Linked DNA regions of Homo sapiens: region 1 is linked to region 2. The links are contacts of gene promoters, found by promoter capture Hi-C in human tissues and cell types (Jung and others, 2019). All regions are on one chromosome and are shown on one strand. The core of a region is centred on a gene start or on the middle of the fragment in contact, and the rest is flanking DNA. Distances in the headings are between cores, read along the strand shown. Region 1 overlaps LINC02609 (long intergenic non-protein coding RNA 2609). Region 2 holds the start of BARHL2 (BarH like homeobox 2).

The links. The method cuts DNA at HindIII sites, captures the fragments that hold promoters and counts their contacts. A contact is called where the count stands out against the background at its distance.
Region 1: a fragment that was not itself captured here is called in contact with the fragment with the promoter of BARHL2 in region 2 in 2 of the 25 tissues and cell types used here (hippocampus and mesendoderm cells).

Annotation. Positions count from the first base shown.
Region 1 is chr1:90,798,848-90,804,985 of GRCh38, forward strand. The region is part of intron 1 of LINC02609 (long intergenic non-protein coding RNA 2609); the gene reads right to left. Among named protein-coding and RNA genes, the nearest start is that of LINC02788, 34 kb to the right of the region's middle. The HindIII fragment of the contact is 6,888 bases long and covers 1-5,198 here.
Region 2 is chr1:90,715,563-90,721,202 of GRCh38, forward strand. BARHL2 (BarH like homeobox 2) reads right to left here and starts at 1,740. Exons shown (of 3, transcript NM_020063.2): 1 at 1,009-1,740. The coding sequence starts at 1,633. The HindIII fragment of the contact is 10,681 bases long and covers 1-5,640 here.

The sequences.
Region 1 (6,138 bases), core at 505-3,004, 83 kb after region 2:
TGAAAATTAAACAAGATTCCAAATATAAACTACTTGGCATACAATAGATACCTCATAAATGTTCATTCTCTTTCTCCCTTCAGAGACTAAACCCTGATTCTTCATCAGTTTCAGCTCATTGTGTACATGCATTCTAAATAGATATGTTTTCAATGGCAACTATTTGAACCCACTGACTAGCAAGTTTAAAATCATTTGGAAACCAGGTTTGTGATCCAAGGGAATTTAAAGTTGCTGACACAGAGGATTTTTCAGAACTGAGAAATGTCACCGTTCATCTTTTGGAAACTGGTATGGCTTCATGTCCTTCACATTTTCCACCATGCTGGCCTGGTTGTTTATTTATTAATGATTTCCATCATGAAACCATTGTTATCTCAGCTTCCTGTTATGGCCTAAAAGCACACAAAATCATCATTTTCTAACGAGCACAAAGCATCCAAATGCCTGTGCTTCCCGCGACATTTTTGTTTTATTAATAGCCATTATGCCAATCCGTTGATAATGGCCTTTTCAGTGAGACACACACACTGTCGCGTAACGATCGTGTGATTTCTGCATTTTTACCAGTATAAATATTAAAATCTCTGACAGATTGCTAATGAGCTGATGTTGGAATTACAGAGTAGTCTGTTATCATTTGTCCATTCACAGTTTCCTCACCAGCCCATCTGTGCTCGGAACACAGCCACCGCGGAGCATGCAGGCTGGGACAGTTTCTCCATTTACACCTTTTGCCTTCAGAAGCCTCTGGGAAAGCCTGTCCCTAATTAAAGATTTTAGCAAACATATTGCCAGCTTTCTAACACTGTTATTAAACTGCTCTCTTTTGTTAGAAAAGGTGCTGTTTGTCAGCAGTTTGTAGATTTAGATATTTAGTGTGTGTTTCTGTAACCCAGCAAAATATTTATGCTTTTAAAATAATTCAATTAATATGTTATGCATGTATCTACCTGTGTGCACAATAAATACACATGGCACACACGCCATCAAAATCCTGTTTAATTATTCAGACTCACAAGGACAGACAAAGAAACATGGTGTTTCTGCAGACACATGGACTTCTCTACAGAATAAGGTGGATTTGAACATTTTAAGGTTGGGACTATTAAAATAAAATGATCAGATTGAGATCATGGCTCAGGTAATTTGGGGCAAGGGCAAAGTAACTTTCATCTGAAATATTTGTAAAATTAAGGTACACTGAAAAGGATCTGATATTTCTAGCAGAATATGCCTAGTTGAGAAAACAGTGTTCCCTCACGTTAAAGGCTTAACTGTTGGAGCCATGGTTCTCAGTCAGTATGGGTGTGATTGAGGCTAGGTGGGGAAGGGCACATGAGGTCAGTGGGGGCGCTTCTGCATGCTCTCTCCCACCCCCACCGTCAAATCTGCCTAGTTGCAAATCAGTGCAGCAGAGCAACAGGGGAAGAGGACAGCTGCCAGATCGGAGAGCCTGCTGCCCCAGGAAAAGGCTCTCAGATCATTAGTCTTGGAAGTGAATTCATCTCACTCTTCCCAGGGTGAGCATACAGAGGGGTGACCCCTCTGGTAGTAAGCCATGTAAGGTTTTACAGACTAAAGCGACCCCCTAGAAAATCCTGAAGAGCCCGAGGTCTTCACTAAGGAGGCAGGAATAGTAACTCCCAGGGGCTCATCACCTTGGAGCCCAGAAGGTGGCTCTGCATGCTGCTTCAGAGTCATTCCCACCAGTGACACTATAACACTGAGGGACTGTGAGATGCATCTTCCAGTGTGGAAGCTTTGTGGCCACTTATTGCTTTGAAATTTTAATGTAAGTTTTGATATTTTGATTTAATCCTTGAATTAAATACAAACAAGTCTGAGGGCAATGACACAAATCATACAGCAAAATACATGTTCTGAAAGAATTTGCACACTAGAGAACTACTACACATCCATAAAAACCATGCGCTCTATCTAACTCCACAGGGTAGCCAACGTTAAGAGCCAGATGACTGGCCCAGGTGCAGGGGAGTGCAGAGGCCGGAGACATCCCTTCTAGTGAGGATAAGTTAAGAAGTTCTCCCAGAGGGGTAGAACCAGCACTGAACACTGAAGAATGTGGTTGAGTGACAGGGTAGGAGTGGGGGAAGAGGACATTGTGAGCTGGGAAGATGCTGGGAAAGGAAAAGGGATATTTGGGGCACCTTAAATAGGCTGCTTAGGCTAGAGCAGAGGTTTGTGATGGGACCTTGAGAAAACAAAGGTTTCTGGGGCTGCTCTGTCAAGGCTCAGGATCTGTACTTAATCTTGTTCTTGTTGTTGTTGTTGTTGTTGGTGATTTGTTTTATTTGTTTCCCCTCCCCCCCTTTTAAATAAACTTTATTTTGTAAAGCAGTTTTAAGGTCACAGCAAAATTGAGGTAGAAAGTATAGAGAGTTCCCATATGCTCCCTGACCTCACATACACACAGCCAGCCTCCCCCATTCTCAACATCCCACACCTGGGTGGTACATTGGTTACAACTGATGAACTTCCACGGACACATCATTATCATCCAAAGTCCATAGTTTGCATTAGGGTTCACTCTTGATGTTGTACATTCTACGGATTTGGACAAATGTACAATGATATGCATCCACCATTATAATATCATACAGAATAGTTTCACAGCCCTGAAGACCCTCCATGCTTCCCCTATTCATTCCTACCTCTCTCCAACTCCTGGCAACCACTGAGACCTCTATACTGTATCCATAGTTTTGCCTTTTTCAGAATGTCATATAGCTGGAATTATGCAATATGTAACCTTTCAGATTTACTTCTTTCATTTGGTAATATTCGTTTAAGGTACCTCCATGTCATTTCATGGCTTGATAGTCATTTCTTTTTAATGCTGAATAATATTCCATTGTCTGGATGTACCACGGTTTATTTATCCATTCACCTACTGAGGGACAACTTATTGCTTCCATGTTTTGGCAATTATGAATAAAGCTACTATAAATATCTATGTGCAGATTTTTGTGTAAAGGTGATTTCCATTTCTTTTAGAAAACACCAAGGAACTCAATGGCTGGATCATACGGTAGAAGTATGTTTAGTTTTGTAAAAAAAAACAAAACAAAACAACAACAACAAAAAACAGGCTGTCTTCCAAACGGCTGTATCATTTTGCATCCCCACCTGCAATGAATGAGAATTCCCATTGTTCTATATCCTTGCCAACATTTGGTGTTGTCAGTGTTCTGGATTTTGGCCATTCTAATAGGCATGTAGTGGTATCTCATTGTTGTTTAAATTTGCATTTCCTCAATGACATGTGATGTGGAGCATCTTTTATTTTGCCTATCTGCCATCTGTGTATCTTCTTTGGCAAGGTGTCTGTTCAAGTGTTTTGTCCATTTTTAAATTAAGTTGTTCATTTTCTCTCTCTCTCTTTTTTTTTTTTTTTTTTTTTTTTTTTTTTTTTGTGATACAGAGGCTCGCTCTGTCACCAGGCTGGGTGCAGTGGCATGATCTCAGCTCACTGCAGCCTCTGCCTCCTGGGTTCAAGCGATTCTCCTGCCTCAGCCTCCTGAGTAGCTGGGACTACAGGCAAGCACCACCACGCCCAGCTAATTTTTGTATTTTTAGTAGAGACTGGGTTTCACCACGTTGGCCAGGATGGTCTCGATCTCTTGACCTCGTGATCCGCCCACCTCGGCCTCCCAAAGTGCTGGGATTACAGGCATGAGCCACCGCACCCGGCTGACATTTTTAGTTTTAATAAAGTCTAGCTTATTATCTCTTGCATGTATCACGCCTTTGGTATTATATGTAAAAAGTCATTGCTAAACCCAAGGCAATCTATATTTTGTCCCATGTTATCTTCTACATTGTGATTTTTTTCTAATCTGATCCTGAGCTCTCTCTCTTGAGAGCAGCAATAAGCCAAGATAGCCACCCTCTAGGAGAGGGCTGACCAGGAGGAAAGTTAGGTTCAAGTGCTTGTGTCAGGTGAAGCACAATGAGGAATGAGGAATTGAAACCAGAATGCCTAAAACAGAAGAAATGTATTACTTACAGGTACCAGAGAGATTAGGGGTGCTGATAGGAAGTCATCAGGAAATCTGGAGGCAGCAGGGAGCTCAACCATCAGGTGGAGAGTGGGAGAGAAAGAAGACCTGTGGGACTTTGCCCTTATCAAGGGCGCTAGTCCTTAGGTTTTCCCATGGGAGCTGTGAATTGGCTACTTTAAAGAAAACATAGCCAGGCTGTGTGTGGTGGCTCATGCCTGTAATCCCAGCACTTTGGGAGGCCAAGGTGGGTGGATTGCTCAAACTCAGGAGTTTGGCCACCTAGGCAAAATTGGCAAAGCCCTGTCTCAACAAAAAAAATACAAAAATTAGCCAGGCATAGGGGTGTGCTCCTGTGGTCCCAGCTACTCAGGAGGCTGAGGTGGGAGTATTGCTTGAGCCTAGGAGGTTGAGGCTGCAGTGAGCCATAGTCACACCACTGCACTCCAGCCTGGGTGATACAGTGAGACCCTGTCTCAAAAACAAACAAAAATGCAAAGTAGGGGATTTTTTCACATAATTCTGGTGTTGACAATTAGATATTGACATCATAATCAGCAGCTATGGAATGTGTTGGGTTTTGGGTTAATGAGATGAGGAACAAGTGGGCTATATTAAAAATAACCACACAGAAAAAGTTTTAATGAGGCCAAAGGTGACAGGGTACAACTGGGTTTCAAAGAACTTATGTCAGGCCCCAAATATTGAAGCCAATGCAGCAACTATGTTTAACAAATTTATGACATTCTAAGAGTTTTATAGTTTTGTGTTTTATGTTTGGGTCTGTGAGCTGATTTTTGTGAAGGGTGTAAGGTCTGTGTCTAGATTCTTTTTTTTTTGCATGTGGATGTTTAGTAGTTCCCGAAAAGGCCATCTTTTATCCATTGTATTGCCTTTGTCAAAGATCAGTTGTCAAAGATCAGTTGACTATATTTCTATGGGTCTATTTCTGGGCTCTCTATTCTGTTCCATTGATTTATTTGCCTATTTGTTCACCAATACCACACTGTAGCTTTATGGTAAGTCTTGAAGTCAGGTAGTGTTAGTCTTCTAACTTTGTTCTTCTCTTTCAATACTGGGTTGGATATTCTGAGTCTTATGCCTCTCCTGTAGAGTCAGTTTGCCAATAACTGTATTGCAAACTGTTAGAATGTTGATTGGGTTTGCAATGAATTTATAGATCATGTTGGGAAGAACTGACATGTTGACAATGTTGGTCTTTCTATTCATGAACATGGAATATCTCTCCATTTGTTTAGTTCTTTGATTTCTTTCATCAGTTTTATAGTTTTTCTTATATAGATCTTGTATATATTTTGTTAGATTTCATTTTGAGGGTGCTAATGTAAATGGTATTGTGTTTTTAATTTCAAAGTCCACCATTTCATTGCCAGTATATAGAAAGGCAATTGACTTTTGTATATTAACCTTGTATCCTGCAACCTTACTGCCATACTTATCAGGTTAGTGCAAAAGTAATTGCAGTTTCTGCCATGTGGTTTTTGTACCAACCTAATAGTTCTAGGAGTTTTTGGGGTTTTTTTGGTCAATTCTTTTGGATTTTCTACATAAACAATCATGTAATCTGCGAGCAAAGGTAGTTTTATTTCTTCCTTCCCAATCTATATATATTTAATTTTCTTTCCTTGTTTTATTGCACTAGCTAGGACTTCCAGTGCAATGTTGGGAAGCAGGGATGACTGGGGATACCTTTACTTTTTTCCTAATCTGAGTGAGAAAGTTTCTAGTTTCTCCCCATTAAGTATGATGTTAGCTGTAGGTTTTTTATAAATATTCTTCATTAAGTTGAGGAATTTACCCTCTATTCCTAGTCTGATGAATTTATCATGAATTGGTATTGGATTTTCTCAAATGCTTTTTCCACACCTACTGACATTATCAAGTAATTTTTCTTTTTTAGTTTGTCGATGTGATTGATTATATTAATTGATTTTCAAATGTTGAACCAATCTTGCATACCTGGGATAAATCTCACTTGGTCATGATATGTAATTCTTTCATACATTATTGGATTCCATTTTGTTAATATTTTGTTGAGGATTTTGCATCTATGCTCCTGAGAGATACTGTTCTGTAATTTTCTTTTCTCATAATG
Region 2 (5,640 bases), core at 490-2,989:
CAAAAAATCGCCAGACCAGACTGTACATCTGTTTTGGACACTATTATGCTAATGCTATAATAGTAAAATGAGGAGCCAACATCCTACCTTCCAGTCAGTACATTTCTTTACCAGAAAAACAAGGATCAATAATAATAAACAATGTGTCTGTAAAGGAAGAAAAAGCTCTCCTGGTATGTTAAAACTTTTGCCATGCAAAGACTACCACATTTACTTATGAAATTGTCTGATGAGAAAATGGAAAAAGGGAGTTGAAGGACAATTTCCATTGTCATCTTATTTTTTTTTTAACAAAAAAGAGATTAATCCAATTTCATAAGATTTTATTTTTATAAATACTACCTCCTAAGTACTTGTAAGGGGCCAAAAATCTTTGTAGGATACAGATACTCAGTTGAGGCCATAGGGTAAGAAGGGTGCTTTTAAGAAACTTATTACAAATTTTTACGGGCTAACCACAATCTAATTTTTTTAAAGTTGCTCTGTTCATGAACTCAGAAATTTTTCCTCCATTAAAACCGATAATTCCTGTGATGATGTTAAGAAAATAAAGTGGGGGGGGGGTGAAATCACTTGTACTAAAGAATAAACACCAGGTTGTGATCACACCCACGCTAGCTAAGTGGTTTCTCTCTCCTACCTCCCCCCATTCCCATTCCCAAAGTCTAGGCTAGAAAAACCCCAAGTCCATCCCTTTTATCAACGAAAAGTATTTCCTGTCGGATGCCCTCCGCCGCCCCTCAACCCCCAGTAGATTAAAATTAAATAAAACAAAGGAAGGAGCTGGATGGCCGTGAAGGTTGTGGGGTAGAACAATAAACAGAACTTCGAGGAGTCCCCACATCGCACGCCCAGGCCTCCCTTCAGCTGCAGTCTTTTGACCGTCGCCCAGTCGCCCGAGAAGCTCCTGGAATCGCTCCCCAGCAGAGATCTGCTGAAGGCTGAAGGGGAGATTGGGAACCAGGAGGACAAGCTAGACGGCCGAGAGCGCCGGGTGGCGGGACTCACCGTGGCATTTGATGTCGCTCTGGGAATCCTCCCGCTTGTCGAGTTTGGTCTTGCTGTCCTCCTGCTCGAGCTTTGGCCTGAAGCTCTCGTGCACTGCGTTGCTCTCCTGCTTCGGGGTGTGGTGGGGAGAGGATACGCTGGTGCTGTAGGGTGCACATGCCGCCAGAGGTTTGCTGTCGCCCAAGATGTCCTTAATTAAAAAAGAAGACGTGGAAGTCCTGGGGGCCGAGGCGGCCGAGCCCAGCTGCTGGGGGGGCGGCGGCGGCGGCTGCTGTGGCGGCAGCGGCTGCTGCTGTTGGGGCAAAGGCTGCAAACTTTGCGTCGGGGCCGCGGCCGGCGGCGGCGGCTGCTGGCTGTGGTGGAGGTGGTGATGATGCTGGGTCGCGTCTGCTACCAGATGCGGCTCCGGGGGCTCCATGGTGACTGAGATAGGAGAAGAAGGCGCCGTCCCTACGGTATCAATCTCCGAACAGGGAGATGGGGTGGCCTGACTCCTAAAATCCGCGGTCCTGGCCTCACCGAGCGGGCGGAAATCTCCATTCATCATGCCTGGGCTGCCTGAACTGGCACTGGACAAAATCGTGTCTATTCCAAAACTCGACCCGCTGGCCCCTTCCATTGTCATTGCTACATGAGGTCCACGCCACTCCGCCGTTCAGCAGCCGCCCCGAACCAGCGAAGAAAGCTATCGATCGTAAAACAAAATAAACACCAAACAATGTTGCCGCCGCTTAAAAAAAAAAAAGTGGGGCGGGGAGAGAAGGAAGGGTAATTGGGAAGTGGCAATCTGTGGATACTTTCGACACAACTTTTTTTCTTTTATGCAAAAAGTAGGGGTGGAAAGAAAAAAGATGCGGGGGGCGGGGGGAGTTAAAAAAATTTCTGAGAAAACTCGGAACTTGCGCTCCAGGAACGACTGCGCACGTGGCGCGGCGGTGGCGGCGCGGAGGACCCAGGCGAAGGCGAAGGCGAAGGCGAAGGCGCAGGCGAAGGCGAAGGCGCAGGCGGCGGGAAGCTACGCCAAAGCCGCCGCCGCCGCCGCTGCCGGGGTCTGCCCACAGCCTGGCACCGGGCGGCAGCGGTGGCGGCGGCGGACGCGGCAGGTGCAGCGACCGCGAAGCCCGGGCGGCCGCGCGCCCTCGGAACTCCCCCGCGGCTCCCGAGGTGGCAGCCGCGCGCCACTCGGCAGCCCCGTAGCCGAGTTTCTGAACTTTCTTGGAAAGTTGCGGGGCAGACACGGCCGCAGCGGTTGCGGCAACCCGAGGAGGAGGAGGAAGAGGAGGACGACGAGAAGGAGCAGGCACAGAAGGAGGAAGCGGCGGAGACGCGATGCCGGGCGACTCCGGCCGCTGCCGGGCGCGTTCGCTTGTAATCCGGCTGCTGGCGGGCGGCGCCGACCCCCTCCCGTGACGTCACGGCCACTACCGCCGCTCCCCGCGCCGCGCCGCGCCGGGCCCGCGCCCCCGCCACCGAGGCCGCGCGTCCGGCCCCGCGCCCCTATTGGCCGCGCCCGCGCGAGCGAGGGACGCCGACGTGCCAGGGAGCCAATAGGCGCAGCGCTCGTGAGCCCGTCAGCGGACTCGGCTCGGACTCCGCTGCTCTTTTGAGAACCCGCACATCCCTGAGCCCGCAGCCCTGAGCCGAACTCCGAGTCCAGTGGTCCCGGTGTCCACAATCACGAGTGCGAGGCAAAGGGAGAGGGAGGAAGAGATCAGAGGGAGACCAGAGAAAGGGAACCAAAGGGGAGAAAGAAAAAAAAAAGTAGCAAGGATTCGCCCGTTTTCTTAAGTCAGAAGAGAGAGAGAAGAGGACGGGAAGGGACTTACCTTTAGGCTCCAGCGCGGCGGCCCTCGCAGCCTCCCCAAACGCGCGCGGGAATAGTCCGAAGACATTAAGAGCGGAGGAAGGAGATCCCTGAAGGAATCCACAGAAAAGTGTGTCACTTCAGGCGCCGGAGCCTTGCATAAGCGGGCGGGTCGGCTCTGGGCTCTGATTTCTCGCCCGACGAACCCAGGCGCTCGGGCTCAGCCCGGCGGGAGGCGGATCCCTGAGAGGGACACAGCCGGGTCCGCGTCCACCAGGCGCTCTCGGGGAGGACGAGGCCTGAGGCTCCAAGCTGGGGAACCAGCCTGGTCTCCAGCTGGAAAAAATGCCTGGCCAGACGCTTTCTCCCGAACGGGGGAGCTAATGCCCGAGGCGTTCTCTGGTGGCGAGGGCAGCCACGGTTCACTGCGGTGTCGGGCGGGCGCGGGGCTCAGGACCCATAGCGGCTGGTCTGCAGCCCGCGCCCCTGCCGCGCCCCGCGGCAGTCCGTCCACCTCTGTCCCCCGGCCCCTTTCGGCGAGCGCTCATTTGGAAAGGAAACAGTCACTGCGGATCCACTTGGGACCCGGAGCATGACTGTAACGCCTCGTTGGAGTGTATCAACTTGCATTATTTTCTCTAGGACGTCTCCAACCTGTCTCATGTTGAATGTCAGAGTAATGGGAAGTGCCAGTGACAAGACGGCGTATTACTCCTGATTAAGTGCCGTGTCAACCTAATTAGCAGAGTAATTATAAGGTGCTAATGAATGATTCAAAGTTCTTTGAGTTACATTTTACTCCAAATTACCATTTTAAGAACCCTATGAATCTGCGAGGCGGGCATCGCTTCCGTGGCTAGGTCTGGAATGATGTTCGAGTGGCCTTTAATGTCTCCAAAGGCTGGGCCGAAATCTGGAGTTTAGTTGCAGTTCTGGAGGTCACTTTCTGGGCCACAGCTTTTATCTGTTGAGGACGAAGGGAGGGGTGTCAGGGAGGCAAATGACCTCCTGGGACAAGCTCTTGCCTTTCGGTCGGAACTGCTTCTGTGTGAGCCCTGGGTCCGGAAGCGGGTAGCTGGGCGACTCATCCTGCCTGCGTTTTCCTAGGGAAATCGGTGTGTTTGACCCAGAAAAAAAAAAAAAAAAAAAAAAAAAAACAGCACTACTTGGAGGGTGGGTTGAGCTGTTTCTCATCGTCTCAGTGGCATTTTTCCTAGGGCTGTTCCGAGAGAACAGCGGGGATTGAAGGGACGGAGGCAAGGAGATGCACAATCCGGGCAGCTCTCGCTCTTCTCGGAAGGCGAAGGGAGTTTGGCGGAGAAGACGGGGTTGGTGAGCCGAGGCGGGGACTCCGGACGTGCTCCATCCCGGCAGGGGCCGACAGTGGCCAGAGGGGTGCGGGGAGGCCCTCGGGAACGGGTGACTGGGCCCCGCCGGGTGGGGTCGGGCCACTGTAGGCTGGAGCGGGGTTGGATCAAATGCCTTTGGCGCGGGAACTGAGTGCTGGCCCGGGAGACCCTCCGGAGAGCTCGCGGGCTCGGCCTCGGCCTCGGCCTCGGCCTTCGGCCGCGGTTACCGAAACACAGACGGTAGACTTGTGGAGGTGGCTTATCCGAGGCCGCAGGGCCCGACGCTGCACAGCTTCGCAGCCTAAATATCCTGCGCCTCTGTCACAGTTGACCGCTGTGGGGAGGACAGGAAGGGCTCTAGGGCTGCCCGAGACTGCAGGCTGACCCTACCTACTCTACCCTCTTCAAATATCGATTAGGGTTCTTCCCATTCCAACATCATCATCCACCAACTTCCCGAATATGGTGCGTTTTCTCCTAGCCCTGGGAGGTTCCAACTCGAACTCCCCTCGCTGCATATTCAGGGTGGGAAGTAGGGAGGGGGAGAAAACAAATTTAAAATCCAGAACTGACGGCACTGCACAAATCAATTATTCTCGACCTTGATAAATAATTCATTTAAGCCTGTTTTTGTTTTGTTCCGACGCCTAAAATGACTCAAGAGCTCAAAAGGCTGATCGCACAGCTTGTGTTGGGCGGTTCGACAGGGTCTTTTTGCTTGGAATAATTCACAGCATTGGCAGGGGAGACGATGGAGATATGACCCTACAAAAAAAATGAAATCTATAAAGAAAAGGAGAGAGAAACGTGGAAGTGTTGGGGGCAGGGGAGAGCGTGTTTTGTGACAACTCTAAAGCAAAGCAAAAGGGAACCCAGTAGGCCCCACTTTGTGAATGTCTCAGATCATATTTTCTTAAGAAAAGGTTAATATCATAGAAGAGTTCTCTGGGTGGGTGTTAGATCAGCTTCCAGGAGCAATAACGGTAAGGGGAAAACACGACCTTGACTTTTATCAAGGCTGCTATGTTAGTAGTGGCCTGAAGATTCACAAAATGGACTTGAAGACCAAATTGCAAACTTAATGAAAAATTTTTTTTCAGAGCTGGAGTTTTGTTTAACTTTTCTCAGTTCTTTTTTCTCCAGACACATTCCTCTCTCGCATTTTTTTTCTGAAAGTATATAATGTATACATCCAAGAAGTCATGCATTTTCTGGCAAACATAATTCACTTTTCATTTTTAAAAATCACAATTCAGAAACACAATAGGGTGCAGATATATCATATTTCTAAACGAAAGAAAATGCTTTAACTGGATTTAATCTTAGATTTTCCCACTGGATTTAAAATACAAATAAATAGAGTCTCTAAACTGACATGAGTTTAAATATTAAACTCATTCACTTTCAGGCCCTCATTTCCTTAGAAGAAGGAGAAGGGGAAGAGAAAAAAAGAAACTTGTGTAATTTTTGGAAGATTTT